Regions from separate parts of the Homo sapiens genome. Here regions 2, 3 and 4 are each linked to region 1. The links are contacts of gene promoters, found by promoter capture Hi-C in blood cells and fetal thymus (Javierre and others, 2016). All regions are on one chromosome and are shown on one strand. Each heading gives the region's core, a stretch centred on a gene start or on the middle of the fragment in contact. The rest is flanking DNA. Distances are from core to core; before and after follow the strand shown. Region 1 holds the start of FANCD2OS (FANCD2 opposite strand). Region 2 overlaps CIDEC (cell death inducing DFFA like effector c). Region 3 overlaps IL17RE (interleukin 17 receptor E). Region 4 overlaps IL17RC (interleukin 17 receptor C).

Region 1 (4,187 bases), core at 842-3,341:
GTCCAGTCAAAAAACTGTTAAAGATTTTTGTTTTTCTAGGTGTGGGTGTGGTTTTAAATTTGTTTTTCTGATTTGTTTGTTTTCCATCTATGGAAGACCTACTGGTTCCATAAGACCTTAATTTTCTTTTTCCTTTGAAGATTAAAAAGGGCTGTGAGGATATTGCTAACTGAAAATTTATGCAAGTAAAATTAGAATTTTCCATCATTCTCCTTCAACATTGCCAGTATATAAGAAGTTTTACTAAATTCAGAAGCTAATTTTTTTTAGCACGTACCTATTTTGTTAGTGGGCATAGCAGGTCCCTTTTCTTTCTAGCCAAGTGTATTTCTCTGCCCCTTCTTCTCCCACAGAAGATAGCAGCAGATCTCATCCTATCCAGTAATTGCCCCAGAAATACTGTGAAAATTTTGACACCTTCACCGCCGTTTGTGAGATAGAAAAGTTCGTTTTAAAAAAAGAACTGTTGGCCGGGCACAGTGGCTCACACCTGTAATCCCAGCACTTTGGGAGGCCGAGGTGGGTGGATCACTTGAGGTCAGGAGTTCAAGACCAGCCTGGCCAACAGGGTGAAACCCCGTCTCTACTAAAAATACAAAAATTAGCCAGGCGTGGTGGTGGGTGCCTGTAATCCCGGGTACTCAGGAGGCCGAAGCAGGAGAATCACTTGAATGGAGGCTGCGGTGAGCCGGGATCAAGCCATTGAACTCCAGCTTGGGTGACAGAGGGAGACTCCGTCTCAAAAAAGAAAAAAACGTTGGTGACATTTCAGACCAGAAGACCTGCTCCTGACAATGGTTAGTATAGGGGGATTTGTTGATTTTCTCCAACTAGTATGTTTCTCATGATCTATGTAGGCTCTTTGCAAAGTACTAAGTGTTCAAATATCTGGGCTGCCTTAGAATGAGAAAGGGACACCCAAGGGACAGTTATCTATTCCAAACACCCTGTGAAAGGCTTCTGGTGCTTGATATCTTGACCTTCAGAGCACATATCCAAGAGAGGGACTACTGTGGTACACCACCATGGCAAGGTGGGCGGAGGGTATGAATGCTGTCAAGCATATTTTTAATCCCAGAATATGGGATTTAAAAAAGTATTTAATCCCAGGATCCTTTTCTTTCTTTCTTTCTTTTTTTTTTGAGACAGAGCCTTGCTCTGTCACTCAGTCTGGAGTGCAGTGGCGCGATCTCCGCTCACTGCAAGCTCCGCCTCCCGGGTTCACGCCATTCTCCTGCCTCAGCCTCCCGTAGCTGGGACTACAGGCGCCTGCCACCACGCCCGGCTAATTTTTTTGTATTTTCAGTAGAGACAGGGTTTCACCGTGTTAGCCAGGATGGTCTCGATCTCCTGACCTCGTGATCCGCCCGTCTCGGCCTCCCAAAGTGCTGGGATTACAGGCGTGAGCCACCGGGCCCGGGCCCCCCGGATCCTTTTCTTGCCACATCTTCTAAGAGGAAGTAGAGGTAGAAGTAAAAGTCTTTGTCAAATGTCCAGCCTAGGTCGCGGCGCGGTGGCTCAGGCCTGCAATCACAGCACTTTGGGAGGCCAAGGCGGGCCAATCACTTGAGGTCAGGAGTCAGCCTAAATATTCGGCAGAACCAACATGGGACGAGAGCGCTTCTAAACCTAGGTCCCTGCACCTCTTCGCACAAAGTTTAAAGATGGTTCACCCCATCCCCACCGCCCAGAAGTCACTGTCAACCACTCCAGAAGGGCTTGAACCTACAAAGTCTGCTCAAGCTGCTCAATAGCTCCCAGATATGGAACACCTGATTCTCCTGGCCAAAAAGGTTTCCCCTTCACACCCCACTTCCCATTCCAAGGAACCCCATCTCTTGATTTCCCCACCTGGGAAACAGGGCGTTAGCGCCAAAGTGCAGCTGAGGTCCTGAACTGTAAACGGAGATCCCGAGGGTCTGGAGCTGCCGAGAGTGCGAGAGGCTCCCACTCCCCGCCGGAAGAAGGGGCTTGGGCCTCCTGGGTCCCTATCCGGGGGCGGGGACCAGAAGGTTCTGGCTGAGGCGGACGATGCGGTGGGAACCTGGGCCCAGTCCCACCATCCGGGCCCGGGGCTCACCTGCTGAACTCTGAGGGTCTCACGCTCCAAAGTGGCGGCCGCTGTTCGTGGCGCCTGGCAACCGCCTTTGTGACCCAGGACGGCAGGGCAGCCCGAGCCGCGGCGGGGATGGGGGCTCGAGGCGCCCTACTGGGAGGCGTCAGGGCCACACTCCCCGCCCCCACCTCATTGGAATGCCTTGTCCAGGACTTGGCCTTCAGGAGGGCTGGTCCGAATCCTGTCCCCTCCATTGTCCTCCTCCCTACCGTGCCACACCTGTGTACCTGTGTGCCTTTGATCAAGCCACAGAGGACAGGCGACCCCTACTTCAATGGCCATGGTCAGAGGCCTGCATAAAAGTCCCAGGACCTGTAGTTAGTGTTAAAAGTTAGTCCCAACTCATCACACTCTGCTCAGTGGGTGCTCAGGCAGAGTGACCCAGAGCTCTGTCAGGTTTTGTTGCTCTATTTGAATGATCCCAGTGGCAAAGAAAGAGAATTAATAAATGTTCACCTGTCAAGAGCAGGAGGAAACGCACGTCTTTCCTTGATTTCCTGACAGAAAACCTTTCTCAGCCTTGCGTTAAACCTGAGAGTACCTGTAATCCCAGCTATCTAGGTGGCTGAGATGGGTAGACTGCTTGAGCCCAGGAGTTCAAGACCAGTCTGGGCAACGTAGTGAGATTCCCAGCTCAAAAAGAAAACAAAAAAATCTCAAAAAGAATGATTTTGTCTCATTCTTATAATGCAGAAATACACTTTCGCCATATTAGTGAAGGAGTGATTTGACAACTTTGTAATCATCACTTAAAATAATGACCCTGGATGGCTGAGGGAAGGGAGGAGTCTACCCAGCTGATGTCTGTATTCCCAGTACCTGGCTATTGCCATGTCTGGCAGTGTGCAGTATTTGTGGGAGGAAGTAACTAATGGCCTACTTGGCCTTCCCTTGTACACCCAGAATTGCCCTTGCATTTTACAAACTATAGAACACACACCACAAATAAGACTTGTCACCTTTGTTCTGGTTTTTTGGGTAAAGCTGATGGAGAAAGACTGAGGGTCTGAGAATAGAGTCAGGCAAGATCCTGATTTAGAAGACACACACCCACTGTGTGTACATGTGCACCTTTTGGAAGAAGAGGTAAGTGGAGAAGAGTCTGGAGGGCATGTCGGGTCAGAACATGAAGAGAGAGGCACAGAATAGTGAGACTTGGAAGAGACACAAATGATTTTGAATTACAAAACTTTTTTCCCCAGTTAGTTCATTTTTATTTCCCTCTTTTTTTTTCTTTCTTTTTTTGAGACGGAGTCTCACCGTGTCACCCAGGCTGGAGTGCAGTGGCTTGATCTTGGGTCACTGCAACCTTCACCTCCTGGGTTCAAGCGATTCTCCTGTCTCAGCCTCCCGAGTAGCTGGGATTACAGGCGCGTGCCACCAGGCCCAGCTAATTTTTGTGTTTTTAGTAGAGACGGGGTTTCCCATGTTGGCCAGGCAGGTCTCGAACTCCTGACCTCGTGACCTGTGCACCTCGGCCTCCCAATGTGGTGGGATTACAGGCGTGAGCCACCACACTGGCTTTATTTCCCTCTTGAATAAAAAAGACTTTTTTTTTTGAGATGGAGTCTCACTCTGTCACCCAGACTGGAGTGCAGTGGCGTGATCTCCACTCATTGCAAGCTCTGCCTCCCGGGTTCACACCATTCTCCTGCCTCAGCCTCCTGAGTAGCTGGGACTACAGGCACCAGCCACCACGCCCGGCTAATTTTTTTGTATTTTTAGTAGAGACGGGGTTCACTATGTTGGCGAGGATGGTCTCGAACTCCTGACCTCGTGATCCGCCCGCCTCGGCCTCCCAAAGTGCTGGGATTACAGGCTTGAGCCACCGAGCCCGGCTGACATTTTTATTTTAAAAGAAAACAGTCGTTTTCATTTAGGTTTTAATTGCACAGTGGTTTTTGTTTTGTTTTGTTTTTTAAATGAAAGTCCTCAATGCAAAATTGTATGTTTAAAAATTATTGGATAGATAGAGCTTCATACTGTTATAAGAATTTGGGCTGGGTGCAGTGGCTCACGCCTGCAATCCTAACACTTTGGGAGGCCGAGGCGGGTGGATCACCTGAGGTCA
Region 2 (4,187 bases), core at 539-3,038, 240 kb before region 1:
CCCAGGCTGGAGTGCAGTGGCACAATCATAGCTCACTGCAGCCGCGACCTACTGGGCTCCAGTGAACCTCCTGCCTCAGGCTCCTGAGTAGCTGGGACTACAGCCACCATGCTCTGCTAATTTTTTTTTATTATCTAGTGTAGAGACAGGGTCTGGCTATGTTGCCCAGGCTGCTCTTGAACTCCTGGCCTCAAGCGATACTCCTGCCTCAGCCTCCCAAAGTGCCGGGATATCCGGCATGAGCCACTGCACCTGGCCAAGTTTTTAAATCTTTCAGTCACAGACTAAATAAAACAGTCACCTACAAGTTCTACAAGTTCAGCCTTTTTTTTTTTTTTTTGAGATGGAGTCTCGCTCTGTCACCCAGGCTGTAGTGCAGTGGCACGATCTTGGCTTACCACAACCTCTGCCTCCCAGGTTCAAGCGATTCTACTGCCTCAGCCTCCCAAACAGCTGGGAGTACAGGCGCCTGCCATGCTGGCCAGCTAATTTTTTTGTTTTTAATAGAAACCGGGTTTCACCATGTTGGTCAGGCTGGTCTTGAACTCCTGACCTCAGGTAATCTGCCTGGCTCGGCCTCCCAAAGTGCTGGGATTACGGCGTGAGCCACCATGCCCAGCCTAAGTTCAGCCTTTCATGCTTGTCTTGAGTTGTCCAATACTGGAAAATGCCAGCTCACACTGATGAGAAGCTCCTACTCTTTGGGGCTACCTATGAGCCCACTTTGAAATCCCGAGGTTGAAAGTCCTGAACATGAAAGATAAGCTGTCTGGCAAGTTAGGATGGGCATTGATGGAGAAATGCCTTACAGCTTGAGTAGTACTTTTTCACCTAACCACTTAAACGGTTATTATAAAATGGGACACTGAGAAATTAGAAGAGTGACTTAATCCCACCTGCTCAATTGAAGCTCCTCTGATAGGTGAATTTAATTAGGAAATTGTTACTTATGGTATCAATTACATGGTCAGCTCAAGCCTCAAATTCAGCTGACTTTAGTTTCAAAATCAACTGCAATTTTGTTTTTTAAGGAGCCTGGGGTCTTGCTATTGTGCTCCAGCCTGGCCTTGAACTCCTGGTCTCAAGGGATGCTTCCACCCCAGCTTGCTGAGTATCTGGGACTGCAGGCACGTGTCACTGTGCCCAGCTGTTTTTTTTTTTCTTCTTTGGTAGAAAAAGTGCCATTAGCTGTAATCCTACATTAAAGAGAATACTTTGACAATAGATTCGTCTCTTCCTTTAGCCCCCTCCAACCTTCCAGATAAAACCCCACCCCAAAGAACACAGGCAAAGAAGATACATCAGCCTCAATAATTTATTGCAAACTCCCTAATATCACATGCTAGTGCGCTTGCGAATTCACTCAGGAATGTTCCGGGATGGGGGCCAGAAGGTAGAGAGCACCATGAAAGTACAGCCTGCGAGGCCAGATTGCTAAGGGGCAGACTTCATGCCAATGGAGGGACAGACTTCAGGACCAGTCTGGATGGGCTAAGCTGCCTTGGGCAGGAAGGAGCTGGATCAGGCCAGGAGCTTGAGGTTCTCCTTTGGCCAACCCACCCCAGGTTTCCAGCTCCTCCTCCTCACTCAGGGTCCTGCGCGGTGAGGGAGGTGTGGGGAGGTTCGCGGCTCTACAGCTGCCAGGCTTGTGGGCACTACCAGTTAAGCGTGAGGCCCCCAGTCAGTCCTTCACTGGGGAAAGCTTCCAAGGACTTGGGCTTTCACTGCAGTATCTTCAGACAGGTCGGGATAAGGGATGAGGCCTTGCCCTTGGGGGGCTGCCCTTCCTCCGTAGCATCGAGGAGCTGCTGCAGGTAACAGGAGGTGCCAAGCAGTACGTGGCCTGTGGCCTGCATGCTGAAGAGGGCCCAGCGGAAAGCTTCCCTGGGTGGAATGAGAGGGCACGCAAGTCAAAACCACGAAGTAGGTCGGGCATGGCGTTCACGCCTGTAATCCTAGCACTTTGGGAGGCCATGGAGGGCGGGTAACCTGAGGTCAGGAGTTTGAGACTAGCATGGCCAACATGGCGAATCTCTGTCTCTACTAAAAATACAAAAACTAGGCAGGCATAGTGGTGGGTGACTGTAATCCCAGTTACTCCAGAGCCTGAGGCAGGAGAATCGCTTGAACCCAGGAGGCGGAGGTCACAGTGAGCCGAGGTGGCACCACTGCACTCCAGCCTGGGTGACAGAGCAAGATTCAGTCTCAAAAAACAATCAAACAAAAAACACAAGGCTGGGCTTGGTGGCTCATGCCTGTAATCCTATAACTTTAGGTGGCCGAGGTGGGTGGATCATTTGAGGTCAGGAGTTTGAGACCAGCCTGGCCAACATGGCGAAACCCCGTCTCTACTAAAAAATACAAAAAATTAGCCGGGCGTGGTGGCAGACACCTGTAATCTCAGCTACTCGGGAAGCTGAGGCACGAAAATCACTTGAACCTGGGAGACAGAGGTTGTAGTGAGCTGAGATTGTGCCACTGCACTCCAGCCTGGGTGACAGAGTGAGTCTCTGTCTCAAAAATAAATAAATACATAATAAATAAAAACAAGAGTGTACCCCCTCCCTGCACCCCCTTATTCCCATGCTGGCCTGGAAGGGATTGGTTTCATTATGTTTGTTTTCTTCATTAATAACATTTGAATACCACTGAGGTGGTAGCACTAAAAGCATTTCATCAATTCTAGAGCGATGTGCAAATAGGAACAGATGCTGCAGATGGGATCAAGATTAGTGCGAGGACCTGCAATTCCACCTTAACTGAGATGCCCGGAACCTCCCTACTTTCTCATGCAAAACCCCAGCTCATTTCATAAGGCTTTTATTTTTCTACTACTACTTTGGACCAACCAGATTAATCTCCATAACATGGTTCTGCACCTTGAGACACTCTGTTCTAGACTCTGAGGCCTGTCCAAGCCACCTGCAGTCTAGCTCATGTTCAGAGTGCTGGACATGAAGACATCCATGCCTGGCATGAGCATGTACTGAGAACAGAACCTGAATCAGGCAGGCCTAAGTCCTAATCCAGTCTTATTAGCTGGGTGAACTTCAGCAAACTGCTCTAGCTTTGAGCTTCAGCTTCCTCATGGGTAAAATGGGATTGCACCTGCCACCCAGGGTCATAAGGCTGAAATAGCATAAAGCAATTAACATGGGGTTGGATGTTTGGAAAGTAGGGGAAATGGGGAAGCGGGAGCGGGTTCTAACCTCACATATTCTCATGCTTCTTGAGACATTTGGTTAGACTTTCAAAAATAAGTTTTAAGAAAAGTTCATTATATAGTACAAATGACTCTGGTCCATAAGACTTGCAAATTAATTCTGTCATATGGAGGGAAGATTATTTCATCCCTCCCATTCCCACAGGGGAAAAAGCCCAATTTTGTATGTATACATTTATCTCTCTTTTTCTTCGTTTTAGAGACAAGGTCTCATGCTGTTGCCCAGGCTGGAGTACACAGTAGTATGGTCATATCTCACTGCAGCCTCAAACTCCTGGGCTCAAGCAATCCTCCCACCTAGCTGGGATTATAGGTACATACTACCACTGCCAGCATTTTGTGTGTGTGTGTGTGTGCGCACACACGGGCGTGTGATAAAGACAGGGTCTCACTGTGTTGCCGAGGCTGGTCTCAAACTCATGGGCTCAACAGATCCTCCTGCCTTGACCTCCCAAAGTGCTGGGATCCCAGGTGAGAGCTGCTGCACTCAACCTATCTCATCATTCTTCCTGGACCTGTATATATGTGGGATTTTGAAATCTCCTTTGAGCTGATTGTAACTTCTTGCTAGTTCTCTCATTAATTAATGAATTCAATTAAGTCTTTGACACGTGCTTTTTTTTGTTTTTTTTTCCGAGACAGTCTTGCTCTTTTGCCCAGGCTGGAGTGCAGTGGCAGAATCTTGGCTCACTGCAACCTCTGCCTCCTAGCTTCAAGCGATTCTCCTGCTTCAGCCTCCTGAGTAGTTGGGATTACAGGCATGCACCACGATGTCCAGCTAGTTTTCATATTTTTGTAGAGATTAGGTTTTGCCATGTTGGCCAGGCTGGTCTCAAACTCCTGACCTCAAGTGATCCACCCACCTTGGCCTCTCAAAGTGCTGGGATTACAGGCATGAGCCACCGTGCCTGGCCAACACATGTTCATTTTTATAAAATTGACTAGAAGACTACTTAGGAAAACT
Region 3 (3,096 bases), core at 1-2,500, 200 kb before region 1:
TGCCAGGTAGGGACACCTGCCTGGCACAGCCATAAAGCTCCCCACTCCCCTGCCTGCCCTGTGCTACCTCCGCAGTCCCTGTGCTCTGGTGGCAGCTTTGATGTGTCCTCTACCTAGTCTCAAAGGGGTAGCCAAGGTCCTTTGTGCTGAGGGCCTGGACAGGGTGGAGCTGGGAAGATAAGAGCCAGAAGGTATGGGCTATTAGCTATGGGGCTCAGAATTTGCTGATTTGAAGCAAAGACCCCAGGAATGTGCCTTATGGGAGTCTCTCCTAATAATAGCTCTTTCCTTTCTTTTCCCTACTGGGCCCTGTGCCTCAGGATGACAGTTTCACTGGTGAGTCGCATTTCCTGCCCCATTGCTCCTCCCCACGCCCACTATTTTTGCAGATGCCTAGCAAGCCCTCCATTCTAATTTTCAGTTCCCAACCCGGGAAGTAGCACAATATCAAGGAAAAATTTGGAATCATGACAAGCCTGGGTTCACATTGCAGTTCTGCCAGACTCCCGTGTGGCCTCAGACTGTGCACCTAACCCCTCCAACTGACCCTCAGTTTCTGAGGGGTAGTAGCATAGTAGAAATGATTGTACACTAAAGGCAGTGTTGCTTCTGATCTGTAGAGAGGATTAGATGAGAAACATGAGTAAATCTCCAGGTTCTCCATATATGTTGGCTCCTCCCCTTAACTGATCCCTCACTTCTATCAGTAATACAACAATAATCCTTCCTATTTTATGGTATGTTCTACTTCACAAGACATTTTCCCATACACTACAATTTTGATTTTTATAACAGACCCGCTTTATGAATGAGGAATCTGATCCTTAGACAGGTCCTGTAACCCCCAAAGTCATACTTCCAGGATGTGACAGAGCTTGGCCTCAAATCCAGCTTGTTGGAGGTAGGAGGGACCTTCTTAGACCCTATCATTTGCTTTCCCTTCCATCTTTCCCAGGAAGTTCTGCCTATATCCCTTGCCGCACCTGGTGGGCCCTCTTCTCCACAAAGCCTTGGTGTGTGCGAGTCTGGCACTGTTCCCGCTGTTTGTGCCAGCATCTGCTGTCAGGTGGCTCAGGTATGAGAAACAGCCCCTTGGGCCATTCTCAGTGAAGAGAACATTTTGAGGGACCACCTAGGCTGAGCAAGTGGGACTTACTAGAACAGATATTTGTCTTGTTTTAACCTCAACTGGGACTTGGATTATCCTAAAATAGCACGCTATGACTGATATTCACAAATACAATTGTACAATTTTATGAAGGTTTTTTTTCAGCTGAGATTCTTGGAATTAAAAGCTATGGATTTATTGTTATTACCATCTATTTGTAGAGCAGGATCTTCTTTCTTACTCTATATTTTAATTGCTCAGCTCAGTGCCTGGTACATACTAAATGCCCTTACATTGCTTAAGAATTGGCAGTTTCTAGGCCAGGCGCGGTGGCTCACGCCTGTAATCCCAACACTTTGGGAGGCTGAAGCAGCCTGATCACCTGAGGTCAGGAATTCGAGACCAGTCTGGACAACATTGTGAAACCCCTGTCTCCACTAAAAATACAAAAAATTAGCAGGGCCTGGTGGCAGGCACCTGTAATCCCAGCTGCTCAGGAGGCTGAGGCAGGAAAATCACTTGAACCCAGGAGGTGGAGGTTGCAGTGAGCCGACATCATGCCATTGCACTCCAGCCTGGGCGACAAGAGCAAAACTCCATCTCCAAAAAAAGAATTGGCAGTTTCTGGGCCAGGTATGATGGTTCACACCTGTAATCCCAGCACTCTGGGAGGCCAAGGTGGGTGGATCGCTTGAGTCCTGGAGTTTGAGACCAGCCTGGCCAACATGGCCAAACCCCATCTCTACAAAAAAATACAAAAATTAGCTGGATGTGGTAGTGCACACCTGAAGTCCCAGCTACTTGGGAAGCTGAGGTGGGAGGATCACCTGAATTCAGGAGGTGGAGGTTGCAGTGAGTTAAGATAGCGCCACTGCACTCCAGCCTGGATGACAGTGTGAGACCCTGTCTCAAAAAAAAAAAAAAAAAAAAAAAAAGAATAGGCAGTGTTTAATTTTTCTAATTGTTTGTTGTTAGAAATAATGCTACAGGGCTGGGCACAGTGGCTTATGCCGGTAATCCCAGTACTTTGGGAGGCTGAGGCGGGCAGATCACCTGAGGTCAGGAGTTTGAGACCAGCCTGGCCAACATGGTGAAACCCCGTCTCTACTAAAAATACAAAAATTAGCCAGGTGTGATGGTGCATGCCTGTAATCCCAGCTACTCAGGAGGCTGAGGTGAGAGGATTGCTTAAGCCCAAGAGTTCAAGACTGCAGTGAGCAGTGATTGTGCCACTGCACTCCAGCCTCCATGACAGAGCAAAATCCTGTCAAGAAAGGAAGGAAGGAAGGAAGGAACGAAGGAAGGAAGGAACAAAGGAAGGAATGAAGGAAAGAAAGAAAAGAGAGAGAGGCAGGGACTGGCGTGGTGGCTCACGCCTGTAATCCCAGCACTTTGGGAGGCTGAGGTGGGCAGATCTTGAGATCAGGAGATCGAGACCATCCTGGCTAACATGGTGAAACCCCGTCTCTACTAAAAGTACAAAAAATTAGCTGGGCGTGGTGGCAGGCGTCTGTAGTCCCAGCTACTCTGGGGGCTGAGGCAGGAGAATCGCTTGAAGCCAGGAGGCGGAGATTGCAGTGAGCCAAGATCGCGCCGCTGCACTCCAGCCTGCGTGACAGAGCAAGGCTCCGTCTCCAAAAAATAAAAATTAAAGAATGCTAAAATGAATATCTTTGTATATATAGCTTTTTCTCTGCTTAAGAAATTAATCTTTTCTTGATTGCTTTATAATTTTCAAGATTAAAGAAGCTTGACATCCTTACCCTCCTTGATTTAAAACGACTTACTATCAGGCCGGCTCATGCCTGTAATCCCAGCACTTTGGGAGGCCGAGGCGGGCGGATCACCTGAGGTTGGGAGTTCGAGACCAGCCTGACCAACACGCAGAAACCCCGTCTCCACTAAAGATACAAAATTAGCCGGGCATGGTGGCACATGCCTGTAATCCCAGCTACTTGGGAGGCTGAGGCAGGAGAATCACTTGAACT
Region 4 (4,187 bases), core at 765-3,264, 180 kb before region 1:
GCTGGGATTACAGGGGTGAGCCACCGCGCCCAGCCTTGTTTTGTTTTTAAACAAGGTAACAGTATGAGGTCCTCACTGTTGAATGAGTGAATAAATGTTACTGCCTAACACAGCCATAGGACACAGCAGATGTTCATGAGATGTATGCTGTGATTTAAATGGCTTCATTGCCAAACACAGTGCCTGCCACATAGTCGGTGTTCCTAACTAAAGGCTTGATGGATAAATTAATGTATTACCTCTAGTGCTTAGCATAGAGCTATGCACATAATAGGCACTCTTGAAATGTCTGTTGAAAGAATAAATGAATGTGTCCTTAGAACTTAGCACATTCCCCAACACATAGCAGGTGCTTACACAAGTGATTGTGGAATGAATTAAAATTAATTATCCACCAGGCACAGTGGCTCACACCTGTAATCCCAGCACTTTGGGAGGCCAAGGTGGGTGGATCACGAGGTCAGGAGTTTGAGACCAGCCTGGCCTAACATAGTGAAACCCAGTCTCTACTAAAAGTACAAAAATTAGCCAGGCATGGTGATGTGCGCCTGTAGTCCCTGCTACTTGGGAAGCTGAGGCAGGAGAATCACTTGAACCCAGGAGGCGGAGGTTGTGGTGAGCTGAGATCACACCACTGCACTCCAGCCTGGGCAACAGAGTGAGATTCCATCTCAAAAAATAAAAAAATAATAAAAATTTAATTATCCAAGGTCTCTTGTGCTTGCCATACTGCTAAGACACAATGGTAGGCACTCATTAAAAGTCTGTTGAATGGGCCAGGCGCGGTGGCTCACGCTTGTAATCCCAACACTTTGGGAGGCTGAGACGGGTGGATCACTTGAGGTCAGGAGTTCGAGACCAGCCTGATCAATGTGGTGAAACCCCATCTCTACTAAAAATACAAAAATTAACCAGTTAGCCGGCCGTTGTGGCATGTTCCTGTAATCGCAGCTCCTCAGGAGACTGAGATGGGAGAATCGCTTGAACCTGGGAGGTGGAGGTTGTAGTGAGCCAAGATTGCACCACTGCACTCCAGCCTGGGCGACAGAGCGAGACTCTATCTCAAAAAAAAAAAAAAGTTTGTTAATGAAGATGTTGCCAGTGCCCAGCATTATGTTTGCTGGAAGAATAGATGTGAGCACCTCCAGGTTTTGTAAAAGGCAGGAAGACCCAGCAAGTGTTTGTGAAATACCTGCTGAATGAGTGCATCCCCACTGTCCAGCAGAGGGCCAGGCACATGCCCATGGAGGGGACCTGAGCAGACCCCCATTTCCTTTCCAGGTGTGGCCTCTGGAACCTGACTCCGTTAGGACGAACATCTGCCCCTTCAGGGAGGGTGAGCCGACCGGCCTGGGGCTGGGGTTGGGGTGTTGCGAGCGATGGGTACCTGGCCTGCGGTGACTGTGCCCTTTCCTTGCAGACCCCCGCGCACACCAGAACCTCTGGCAAGCCGCCCGACTGCAACTGCTGACCCTGCAGAGCTGGCTGCTGGACGCACCGTGCTCGCTGCCCGCAGAAGCGGCACTGTGCTGGCGGGCTCCGGGTGGGGACCCCTGCCAGCCACTGGTCCCACCGCTTTCCTGGGAGAACGTCACTGTGGACGTAAGTGAAGCAGAGGGCACCTCCCGTGGTGAGGGGAGAGTGGGGAACCGGGGGTCCCCTTTTGTGATCCCACCCATTCCTCTCTTTCCACAGAAGGTTCTCGAGTTCCCATTGCTGAAAGGCCACCCTAACCTCTGTGTTCAGGTCAGAAAGGGGTGCATAGTGCTGGGCTGGAGGCTGGACCTGGGCAGACCCCCCAGCCAAGGGGGTCTTAGTTCTTGGGCCGCTAAAGCATAGTGGTTGCCAGCTTCCTCTATGGGAGTTCCACTGCCTACTTTAGTAGTGCGCGGGACCCTGGGCAACTCACTTCACCTCTCTGAACGTCAGTTTCCTCATCTGTTTAATGCAGATGATAATACAGTAACTACCTCATGGAGTGGTTGTGACAATGAAATAAGAGAAGTGCTTCCCCTTAGGAATCGGTACAGACTAAATGCTCCATAAATGTAGCCACTTTTATTATTGCTATCCTTATTCTATTTCCATACCTGTAGAATGGGTTGCTCTACAGTTTCAAAGGGTGATTATAAGAACATTCACTCATCCGGCCAGGCGCGGTGGCTCACGCCTGTAATCCCAGCACTTTGGGAGGCCGAGGCGGGCAGATCACGAGGTCAGGACATCAAGACCATCCTGGCTAACATGGTGAAACCCCATCTCTACTAAAAATACAAAAAATTAGCCGGTCGTGGTGGTGGGCACCTGTAGTCCCAGCTACTAGGAAGGCTGGGGCAGGAGAATGGCGTGAACCTGGGAGGCTGAGCTTGCAGTGAGCTGAGAGGGCGCCACTGCACTCCAGCCTGGGTGACAGAGTGAGACTGGGCGACAGAGTGAAACTCCGTCTCAAAAAAAAAAAAAATTCACTCATTCAAGATTTTTTGAGCAGCACAAGTCACTGTTTTAGGCACTTGTGATAGACCCTAACATCTCTACCCTCATAGAACTTATATTGTAATGGAGAAAGGCAGGCAACAGACATTGTAAATAAATCATATAGTATCTTAAAATTGCATACAAATACCATGGGAAAGGGATAAGGTGGGACTGGGGTTGCAATTTTTAGCAGGGTGGTCATGTGAGAAAGGAATCTCTTTGAGAAGGTTAGATGAGAGGGGAACCATGCTCCGTAAGACATAAAAACAGCTTTAGGGTCAGAAGACGCTTTATACAGATGATCTCACAAGGCTGGGGCAGAGAAAGATGTAGTGATTCCTAATCACCCAGCCTTGAATCCACATCTGCCTCAGGTCAGATTGAGTGCAGATTCCCAACCCAACAGGCCTTCTGTTGCCTGCCCCATTCTGGTCTTTCTGCCTTTGGCTTTTGCTTTTCTTAGTGGCCCTAACCATGGTCTCTTCCCAGCAGGTGAACAGCTCGGAGAAGCTGCAGCTGCAGGAGTGCTTGTGGGCTGGTGAGTTGGGCCTGGGGGCAGCTGGGGCAGGGCCACCTCCTAGGGGTGAAGGTCAGGGCATGGGAGGCAGGCAAGTGGCCAATCCCAGCAAGGATGGGTCTTGGTCAGAGTGGCCTCTCACCCCTTCCAGACTCCCTGGGGCCTCTCAAAGACGATGTGCTACTGTTGGAGACACGAGGCCCCCAGGACAACAGATCCCTCTGTGCCTTGGAACCCAGTGGCTGTACTTCACTACCCAGCAAAGCCTCCACGGTTAGGACTGGGCGACCCTCCTCCACAGATCTCTCCAAATGCATCTCACATCTGGCCTCAAATTTTCACTCCATCCACCCTGTGCCGGTCTCTGGGAACATGGGGGGTGACTCAGACCAGGGCCATATTCAGCGGCATCACCAAAGTCTCCCAGTCCCCTCTACCTCATTCTACCCAGCTGTAGCCTGGTAGGTGCTGCCCTAAGGGTGCTACCTCCAGGTAACAGTGCCCCCATCCTTTGGCTTGGCAGAGGGCAGCTCGCCTTGGAGAGTACTTACTACAAGACCTGCAGTCAGGCCAGTGTCTGCAGGTGAGCTGGTGGAAGAAGGGCCCCACCTCAATGCCTAGGGGCAACAGGCCTAAAACTAGCACTCACCTACTGTCTATTTAGGCTTATTTTATGTTCAGCCCTGGGAAAGTTAAGAGTAGAAGAAGCACAGTTCCTATCCCCAAGGAGCACACTGTTGGCTAGACACCCATAAACAGATAACCACACCTACAGGTGCTAAGTTTTGGGTTCCAGGGAGAGCTTCCGGGAAGAATTTCTTCCTATAAGCCAGATTTGGTATGGAAGAAGTCATACCCTAGTCAGTGGGCACAGCACAAAGGCAGAGCAGCTGCAGGAACCTTAGCCGGGAGATATGCATAGTTGATGCTGGGAATTTGGAGATCAGGCCACCAGAGCTTGGTGAATATTGGAACACCTGGCTGGTGCCCTGGATTTGGTTCTGTTTGTATCTTACAGCTATGGGACGATGACTTGGGAGCGCTATGGGCCTGCCCCATGGACAAATGTGAGTATTGTAAGAACTGCCTTTCCTTTCTGTACCAGGAGTGGGGATCTTGACAGGGACCACTCTTGGGCACAGCACATGCAATGGCCTTGTCCTTCCCTGAGATCAGATAAACAGAGGGTCATTCC

The links. Contacts are between HindIII fragments. The CHiCAGO score rates a contact against its expected background, and 5 or more counts as called.
Region 2: a contact is called between a fragment that was not itself captured here and the fragment with the promoter of FANCD2OS in region 1, in 1 of 17 cell types (activated CD4 T cells). The highest score is 6.9, in activated CD4 T cells.
Region 3: a fragment that was not itself captured here is called in contact with the fragment with the promoter of FANCD2OS in region 1 in 1 of 17 cell types (activated CD4 T cells); the score reaches 7.0 in activated CD4 T cells.
Region 4: a contact is called between a fragment that was not itself captured here and the fragment with the promoter of FANCD2OS in region 1, in 1 of 17 cell types (total CD8 T cells). The highest score is 5.3, in total CD8 T cells.

What each region holds. Positions count from the first base shown.
Region 1 is chr3:10,106,164-10,110,350 of GRCh38, forward strand. It overlaps FANCD2OS (FANCD2 opposite strand), which reads right to left and starts at 2,092. Exons shown (of 2, transcript NM_001164839.2): 1 at 1,852-2,092. The HindIII fragment of the contact is 5,627 bases long and covers 1-4,187 here.
Region 2 is chr3:9,865,413-9,869,599 of GRCh38, forward strand. CIDEC (cell death inducing DFFA like effector c) reads right to left here. Exons shown (of 7, transcript NM_001321142.2): 7 at 1,302-1,884. The coding sequence ends at 1,722. Among named protein-coding and RNA genes, the nearest start is that of CIDEC, 13 kb to the right of the region's middle. The HindIII fragment of the contact is 177 bases long and covers 1,701-1,877 here.
Region 3 is chr3:9,903,077-9,906,172 of GRCh38, forward strand. It overlaps IL17RE (interleukin 17 receptor E), which reads left to right. Exons shown (of 16, transcript NM_153480.2): 2 at 321-336; 3 at 956-1,075. Among named protein-coding and RNA genes, the nearest start is that of IL17RE, 1.8 kb to the left of the region's middle. RefSeq lists an enhancer at 1-645. The HindIII fragment of the contact is 3,209 bases long and covers 1-2,855 here.
Region 4 is chr3:9,926,885-9,931,071 of GRCh38, forward strand. It overlaps IL17RC (interleukin 17 receptor C), which reads left to right. Exons shown (of 19, transcript NM_153460.4): 10 at 1,282-1,336; 11 at 1,421-1,602; 12 at 1,696-1,746; 13 at 2,968-3,013; 14 at 3,144-3,265; 15 at 3,516-3,575; 16 at 4,011-4,059. Among named protein-coding and RNA genes, the nearest start is that of CRELD1, 4.9 kb to the right of the region's middle. RefSeq lists an enhancer at 1,479-1,978. The HindIII fragment of the contact is 6,275 bases long and covers 1-4,187 here.